Linked DNA regions of Homo sapiens: region 2 is linked to region 1. Evidence: promoter capture Hi-C in 16 types of primary human blood cells and fetal thymus (Javierre and others, 2016). All regions are on one chromosome and are shown on one strand. Each heading gives the region's core, a stretch centred on a gene start or on the middle of the fragment in contact. The rest is flanking DNA. Distances are from core to core; before and after follow the strand shown. Region 1 holds the start of IGSF11-AS1 (IGSF11 antisense RNA 1). Region 2 holds the start of TEX55 (testis expressed 55).

Region 1 (3,887 bases), core at 55-2,554:
TGTGGAAGAAAGTACTGTAAGACTGGCTGGAAGAACAGGCAAAGGTCAGATTAAGCAGAGCCTTGAAGGTCATAGAAAGTAAACCTAGATACATTGTATTAGAACCTAATGATGATGCCATATTACCTCTATCTCTATTCCTAGACTTCAAGAGAACTTCTAAAAGGATAACCAAACTCTTTACTTCCACATTTAAAATATTTGTATGTTAAAAACTGAAGAATGCTTTAAACTAGTTAGAAGTTAAATTAGTACTAACACAAACATATCTAAAAATCAAGAAAAATTTTAAAAATAGTGTTTAATTTGGAAAGAAGCAGTGTTACTGGTGAACAAGAATAAAATATTTCAGTTGAGCCATTTTTAAAAAGAATTTAATTGGTTTCAGAATGTAACATCCTTCCTGATGGTTTCAGATGGCTTTATTTGTTCATAAATAACTCTACTTGTTGATTTAGCCACTTTTGTCATATGAATGCTTCATTAAACAAATGGAGCTTGCTCATTATAGCCAAGTAGAGCTATATTCAACCAAGTGGTGAAGTTGAGAGTACATGGTTGTATTTAACAGCAAAGGCCCTTTATCTGGCCTCTTGCCATCTGGAAACTCTAGATAGCATTTCCCAATATAAATCTCAATGTAGTAACCAGACTGATAAGGACATGCAACTATAGCATCACAATGTCAGAGAGTGTTCTGTATACAGGAAAGAAAAATACATTCTTCTCACCCTATTCATTATCCAAGTTAAAAGCCTAGATTTTCAGAAGTCCTTTAGAAAGCTAAGCAGCAAGAAATTTTATTTTCTCTGAAAAAGGCCAGTCACATGGAAGTTCAGATTTGGCTAGAGGGTTATCATTGTAATAAAAGACAATCCTGAAATAGCGAAAAAATAGCCCCTAGATTCTGTCAGTTTTCTCTGCCCATTCCCTGCCTTGTCTTTAAACTATGATTTCTGAAATTTTTGAAAGCACAGAGATCTTTTTTAAAGTCCTTATATAATGCTTAGGGCATTAAGATTTATTTTTAAACTTTACTCATCATTTCTAGGCTCCACAAAGTTTTGTAAGAAATGTCTATCTGTTTTTTAAAATGTCAAGTTGAATTCAAATCTGAGACCCCTTTTTAAAAAAATCATTGTGATAATTATCAATTATTGAGGCTCCCCTCTATATGCTGCAGTCTGTCTTACAGAGCCACAATGCTGGGAGGACCCCTCTGGTCTTCTGTGGAGTAACTGCTTTTTGTTCGAGCCCCTTGTTCAAGCCCGCAGGATCCTTTGTGTTGCTCTGCAGCTTCTGTGCCTTGTAGGACACATGGAATGTTGTGATGACCAGAGCTCCAGTCTCCAGGACAGCCATACTCTTTGAGGCACCATTATTTCCTTTGTCCTCTGAGCAAAGGAGAGCATGCATCTCCTCTTGTCAAGGAACTTGGCCAACTTCCATTCCCCTCCCAGTAGTATTTTTTCTCCTTTATCAGGCTCAAAGGCAGCCCCTCCTACCTCCTCTGCCCCACTGTAGCTTCCTCAGTGAGCATAGGCTTCACAAGAGACAGGAAGCCTGTTGGTCTTCAGTAGTTTCATCTTTTCACCCTGCAAAGCCGACAAGATAAAGGAATACACAGACAACTTGACAAAGATAGGCTTAGAAGAGGTAGGAGAGAAGAAGGAGAAAGACATAATTGTTATTGTTTTCATTTGTTGCTTGCTGTAGTCAGCATAGTCGTATTCATGGCTGACAAATCATATTTTGAATAGTATTTCTATTTGGAGGAATTCCCACATTATGAGTCTACCTCCCCAGTGTTAGAAATGAGAACTTAAATTTCTGGCCTCTTGTGTAGCTTGGACTTCGGCCCTTCAGTCAGATTCACATAGAGAGTCTCTGGCCCTGACTTGAAAGAAGAAACTTGAAAGAAGAAACGTGACAGAACAAGTTCTATGTTGAGCTTCTATTGCTAGCACAGATAGCAGCATAAGAGTATGGCTTTGCAGGATGGTAGTGTTGTAGGGTTAAGTGCCTGATATAGCACTGGGACATCATTCGTAGTTGCAGTAAAGTTTTGGCATTTGGGGTTTGGTGACAGGGACAGTTGCAGCAATTTTCTTAAGCCAGTTTTACAGTATAGTTATGGATGTTTTCCTGGAAGATTAGCCCTTAATTTGTTTTTCAAGCCATTTCCATGATTCTGTGAGCTTCCCAACATACCTTTTTCTAAAAAAACATTTTTTTAAAGTATAACTTACATACAATAAAATCCCTCTGTCTAGGTATATAGTTTGCTATGTTTTGACAAATGTCTCGTCTTGTGTTCACTACCATAACCGTGATGTACACTATTTCTGTAACTCCAAGGACTTCCCTTATGCCCTATGTAGTATTCTCTGCCAAACTTTAACCCTCAGTCCCAGCTCCAGCATCTGGCAACTGCTGCTTTGTTTTCTGCCTGTATAGTTTTGCTTTCTCCGTAGATTTTTTTTTAATGGATACATGCAGTATATAGCCATTTGTTTCTGGATTATTTCACTTAGCACAATAGCTTTAACATTTAGTCATTTTGCATATATCAGAAGTTTGAGGTTTTTTTTGTTCATAAGTAATATTTCATTAAATGGCTGTGTCACAATTGTTTTATCCATTTGCAAGTTGATGGGCATTTGAGTTGTGTCTGGTATTTTGGCTATTACAAATAAAGATGCAGTGAACATTTGCATATAGGTTTTTCTGTAGATCTGTATCTTTACTTGTCTTGCATAAATATCTAGAATTGGAATTGCTAGATTGTATAGTTAAGTGTACATTTAATTCTGTAATAAAATATGAAAATGTTTCCAAATGACTGTACTACATTTCATTTCCTTCAGAAATGTATGAGAGTTAGTTGTTCTACATTCTCGTCAACACTTAGCATTGTCGTGTTAATATAATATATTCTAGTTGATGTTTTGTATTATCTCAATGTGGTTTTAAGTTCCCTGTTGACTAATGAAGTGGAGCATCGTTTCAGGATGTTATTACTCATTTGTATACTTTCTATGCATAGTGAAGTGTCTGTTCAAATCTTTTGTGCATTTAAAAAATTGGACTGTTTGTTTTGTTGAATTTTAAGAGTTTTTAGATATTATAAATACAAGAACTTGTGTTTTGAAAATATTTTTTCCCAACCTATGGCTTGTATTTTTATTTTCTTAATAGTGTCTTTTGAAGACAAGAAACTTACCTTGTTTTATTATTGTTTTATTATCAAAACAATAATTTTGATGAGGTCTTACCCATTTTTAAGTGGTTAATGCATTTTGTATCCTATTCCAGAAGGCTTTTTCTAACCCAGAGTCATAGAGAATTTCTCCTGTGTTTTCTTCCAGAAGTTTTATAGTTTTATTGATATGTTTAAATTTTTTATCTATTTTGAGTTAATTTTTATATAAAGTATTAAATAAGGGTAGAGGTGTTTTTTTTTTTTTTTTTGGCATATGGAGATTATTTTTTCCCCCAGTGCAGTTTTTCAAAAAGAGTAAACTTTTCCCCCTGAATGGCTTTGACAACTTTGTTGGAAATCAATTGCCCATTTATGTATGAATCAATTTTTGGACTCTCTATATGTCCTTATTCCAATGCTACTTTATCTATATTACTTTATAACTTACTTTTTTTCTTGAAAATTATTCTATTCTAATATTCACTTTTGTACATACATTTCAGGAGCAATTTGTCTATACAAAACAGCTCACTGAAAATTTGATTTGGGTTCTATTAAATCTAAAGATAAATTTGGGTTGACTTGACCTCCTAACAGTATTGAGTCTTTTGACTAATGGTCACAGTTTGTCTCTCCAGGCAGTAAAGTCTTTAAATTTCTCTCAGGAAAATTTTGTAATTTTCAT
Region 2 (4,182 bases), core at 740-3,239, 200 kb before region 1:
AGTCCTTAGTAAACCTGAAGGGCCTAGGAATTGTCATTATCAGTGAAACCTGATGTTGATGAGATCTTAACACAAGGAGTTGGAGAAAATACACATTTTTAAGAGAGACTTGGATAATCCTCCAGGTCTCCAGGTGCAATATAATGCACCTCATGTCCTGGGAGGTACCTTAGGCATTGCCAATCAACTTCAAGTACTTTTTCCTTCACAGGGATGTCTAATCAACTCCAAATTCCCTTCTCCTGGTAGAAGCCCAGAGAGGGAAAATGACTTAATATCACAGAGTTAGTTGCAGAACTAGGACTTAAAATGCAGGTTTCCTGAATCCTGGTTTATTAATCCTTCCTGAATGGCCTTTGGGTAGTAGAGAAGGCAATAATTCTCTTTTATTTCCCATCCTTCTCTTGCCCTTCCTGAAATTATGGGTCACACATACCACAACATGTGGGTTTATTCTTTATCCTTGATGCAACATGTGCCCTTCCGTTGTACCCCTATTTTTACTCTCCAGGCCCCGTCTAGATCTCTGATCTCCCAGGTAGGTATCAAATGCCCATTTAACTTACAGATTTGGTTACTATGGCTTGAGTTTTTTCTTGACTGCTGGTATAGTTCAATTTGGATGAGATGGAGGGGAGTCTTGGGAAAAGAGCTTGGTCTTTTGCTTGGAAGTTACTGGTGAATCTGGCATCAACTGGGTTGTAGGGTGGGATAGTGGTTGCATTCTGAGTTTCCATTTCAACTGAAGGCTTGGAATTGAGGTCTACTTGGCTATCCTCAAATTTGCAGGGTTGTACTCTGTAGTCAGCCTCTTTGTCCTCTTTGCTGTTGCCTAACTGGGGAAATATTCTGTCTTCAGACTGGCCACGTGTTTCATAGTAAGACAGCTGGTCTTTATGATTAGCTTGTCTGTCTGCTAAGTGGTCAGTCTGGTCAGATTCAGTGTAGTGAGCATTGTCAACTGGAGGTTGATCAGCATTACTATGAGCTTGGTCAATAGCCTGGTGTTCAGCTAGTTCAGTGGCTTGGCCGTACACTTGGTGGTGAGTCTTTACAGATGTTTTGTGGTCAACGAGGCCATACAATCTGAGGTCAGTCTGCTCAGAAGTTCCTGGGTCAGCCAGGCCAGCCAATCTGTAGTCAGTCTTCTCAGAACTTCTTCTCCTAACTTTCCCTGACATTCTGCGGTCAATCTGTACGGAAGGTCTTTGGTCAGATGGTACGGACGATCCACTGTCAATCTGTACAGAAGGACTTTGGTCAGATGGGACGGATGACCCACTGTCAATCTGCACAGAAGGTCTTCTCTCAGATAGTTTGGATAATCTGTGTGTAATCTGCTCAGAAGTTCTTCGCTCAGCCTCGCCAGACATTCTGCGGTCCATCTGCTCGGAAGCTCTTCTCTCAGACTGGCCTGCCATTCTGTGGTCGGTCTGTCTGGAACCTCTCTGGTCAGATGGCATAGCCAGTCTACCATCAATCTGCCCAGAAGTTCTTCTCTCAGCCTGGGTAGGTAATCTTCGTTCAGTCTGTTCAGCAGTTCTTTCCTCCGTCAGGCCAGACACCTGACCATCACTCTGTTCATGCTGTACATTATTAGCTTGGCTAGATGCCTTGCCTTTAGTCTGTTCAGACGGTGTTTGATTAACCTGATCATCTGCTCTAAGGTCAGAAACATCAGCAGGGTTGGATGCTCTGCGGCCAGCCTGACCAGGTGTACTATGCCCATTTTGTTCAGCTACTCCGTTGGTAGCTTGGCTAAATATGCTGGATTCAGCCTGGCTAGGCACTCTTAGGGCAGTCTGGTCAGCTATTCTGTGAGCAGTGTGGTTATCTGCCTTCCTTTCGGCCTGGTTCTTCTGGTCGTCTTCTTCCTGGCCCTTAGTGTGGCCAGCACTTGAGGGAGCGGCTGGGCTTTCATGTTTCAAGGGTTCAGCCAGAGCCTCTTGCGGAGGCTCTTCCATTTCCTGCCGCGTCCCTGACTGGTCTAGGTTGCCAGGCACTGTGGGTGGGGTTGGGCTGGGTCGTCTAGGCGACCCTCCAGGAACGCCCCATGATTCCCACGGGCTTTGTTCGGGTCACTGCGTGCGTCAGGGAGAGTGGCCGTCCCGCTGTTGTAAGTGGAGGGACGGCAGTCAGCTGACCCTGCAGTGTGCAGGCGAGCGCAGGGAGTACGCCATGTCCTGAGAAGGGGCGATTCTCAGGCTCTGGCAGTTACAGCTTCTCCTCACCCTGCCGAGCAACCAGGCCACGGGGCTCCGTGCATCGCCACCTAGAGTGTTACCCTCTTCCTTGTTCACAGAGGTTCTCCGCAGTGTGTGAGAAAGAGGCCCTCTCTCAGGTACTGCTCCTCTGATTAACATCCCCCACCGCACCTCCAAATGTCAACAGATGAACACACAACCAGCTGCACGAGGACCACAAAACTGAACAGAGGTTGTTGCTATTGCCATCCCCTTTGGGTATAGCTGTCTTGGCAGTGGAAACTCCTGCCCCAAGGTGTTTTCTTGCTGGATTAGACATGTGATCTGTGGCGGGAGAGCCAGAGAGAGGAGAGAAGATCCAGTGAGAATGGGTTCTAAAACTGCACCATCTAGTGGTCTTACAGCAGAGAGGCGAGTTAGAAGGAGGCCAAATCAGAGTTCCAGAAAGGAAGGGAGTAAGGAAAGTGGGAGAAAGATACCAGAAGGAATATTTAGCAAGTGGAGAATTTGTATTTGATAGTGTTGGCCAGTGGGGCCCAGTTTTTGAGATTTGGTCCTCCCACTTTGCAATCAACCTTAAGAATGCACCTCAGAGTCAGTAGGCTGTCTACTTTCAGGAGTAGGCCAGTACAGAGGTGGTGATTGATGAGACAAATTACTTTGACCTTGCAAAGCCTGAAATCACTGAGGCAGGCCAAGGGTTGGTAGTGTGATGCCAGATATTCCTTTAGTAGGGATTTAACTGCATTAAACAATTAGAAATGAGACTTAAAATCCAAATTCAAATACTTGTGACAAAGGAGAGTGGATACACTTGACACCATACTTAGGAATGGAAAGGGGAATCTAAGCACACTGAAGTAAAGTCATTTATGTAACAGTGCCTAGAACATAATAGGTGCTCAAGAAGTGCTTGTTGAATGTCACTTTATGAATTATCTACCTTATTTATTTAAAAATGCATGACACCATTGGATACTGTGTTTAGAGTAAAATAGGTCTTGGGCTATGGCTTGTAGCTTCAAAGTGCTATTGGTTTTGGAGATTTATTTTTCCATTTTATAACTTAAATGTAATAATCATAGAAATATAAAAAAGAAAGCGTAAAGAAAAAAATTCCCAAACACTCAAGAGATAACCTGTATTGACATTTTGATGTTTATCCTTCTGGAAATACCCCCATGCAAATCTATGTGTCTATATCTATAGGTATGTATATATTTTACAAAATGATGATTTATCAATTTGAGATCTTTTTTTTAAATGTAGCTGTTTTATAGTTACAAATTTCCCTCTGAGCTGATGCTTTTGCTGCATCTCTCAAGTGTTTGGTGTTATGTTTTCATTCATCTGAAGATATTTTCTCATTTTCTGTGATTTTTTTTTCTTTGACACATTGGTTGTTTAAAAGTATGTTGTCTAGTTTCCAAATATGTATGAATTTTCCAGTTTTCCTTCTCTTATTGATTTCTAGCTTCATTCTGCTGTGTTCAGAGAAGATACATTGTATGGTTTCAATCTTTTAAAATATATTAAGGCTTGTTTTGTGGCCTACCATATGGTTTATCCTGGAGAATATTCCATGGAAAGAATGTGTATTTGCTTTTGTTGGGTGGAATGTTCTTCATATGCGTTAGGTCTAATTGGTCAATAGTGTTGTTCAAGTCCTATATTTTCTTACTGGCCTTCTGTCTAGGGTTCTACTCATTATTCAAAGTGAGAAACACAAAAAATCAGCCGGGTGTGGTGGTGTGCACCTGTGGTCCCAGCTACTGGTGGGCTGAGGTGGGAGGATTGCTTGAGACCAGGAGGTTGAGGCTGTCTGAGCCATGATTGTGCCACTGCACTGCAGCCTGGGCCACAGAGTGACACCCTATTTCACACAAAAAAAGTGGGGTATTAAAATCTCCAACTATTATTGTAGAACTGTTTCTTTTTCCCTTCAAATCTGTCAATGTTTGCTTCATATAATTTGAGC

Evidence for each region. Contacts are between HindIII fragments. The CHiCAGO score rates a contact against its expected background, and 5 or more counts as called.
Region 2: a contact is called between the fragment with the promoter of TEX55 here and the fragment with the promoter of IGSF11-AS1 in region 1, in 11 of 17 cell types (total CD4 T cells, activated CD4 T cells, M2 macrophages and 8 more). The highest score is 13.6, in total CD4 T cells.

What each region holds. Positions count from the first base shown.
Region 1 is chr3:118,940,493-118,944,379 of GRCh38, reverse strand. It overlaps IGSF11-AS1 (IGSF11 antisense RNA 1), which reads right to left and starts at 1,304. Exons shown (of 4, transcript NR_046230.1): 1 at 1,194-1,304. All of the region lies in intron 1 of IGSF11 (immunoglobulin superfamily member 11), which reads left to right. The HindIII fragment of the contact is 7,141 bases long and covers 1-3,887 here.
Region 2 is chr3:119,143,972-119,148,153 of GRCh38, reverse strand. It overlaps TEX55 (testis expressed 55), which reads right to left and starts at 1,989. Exons shown (of 3, transcript NM_152539.3): 1 at 567-1,989. The coding sequence starts at 1,964. It also overlaps a transcript of IGSF11 not described here. RefSeq lists a silencer at 2,438-2,732. The HindIII fragment of the contact is 11,642 bases long and covers 1-4,182 here.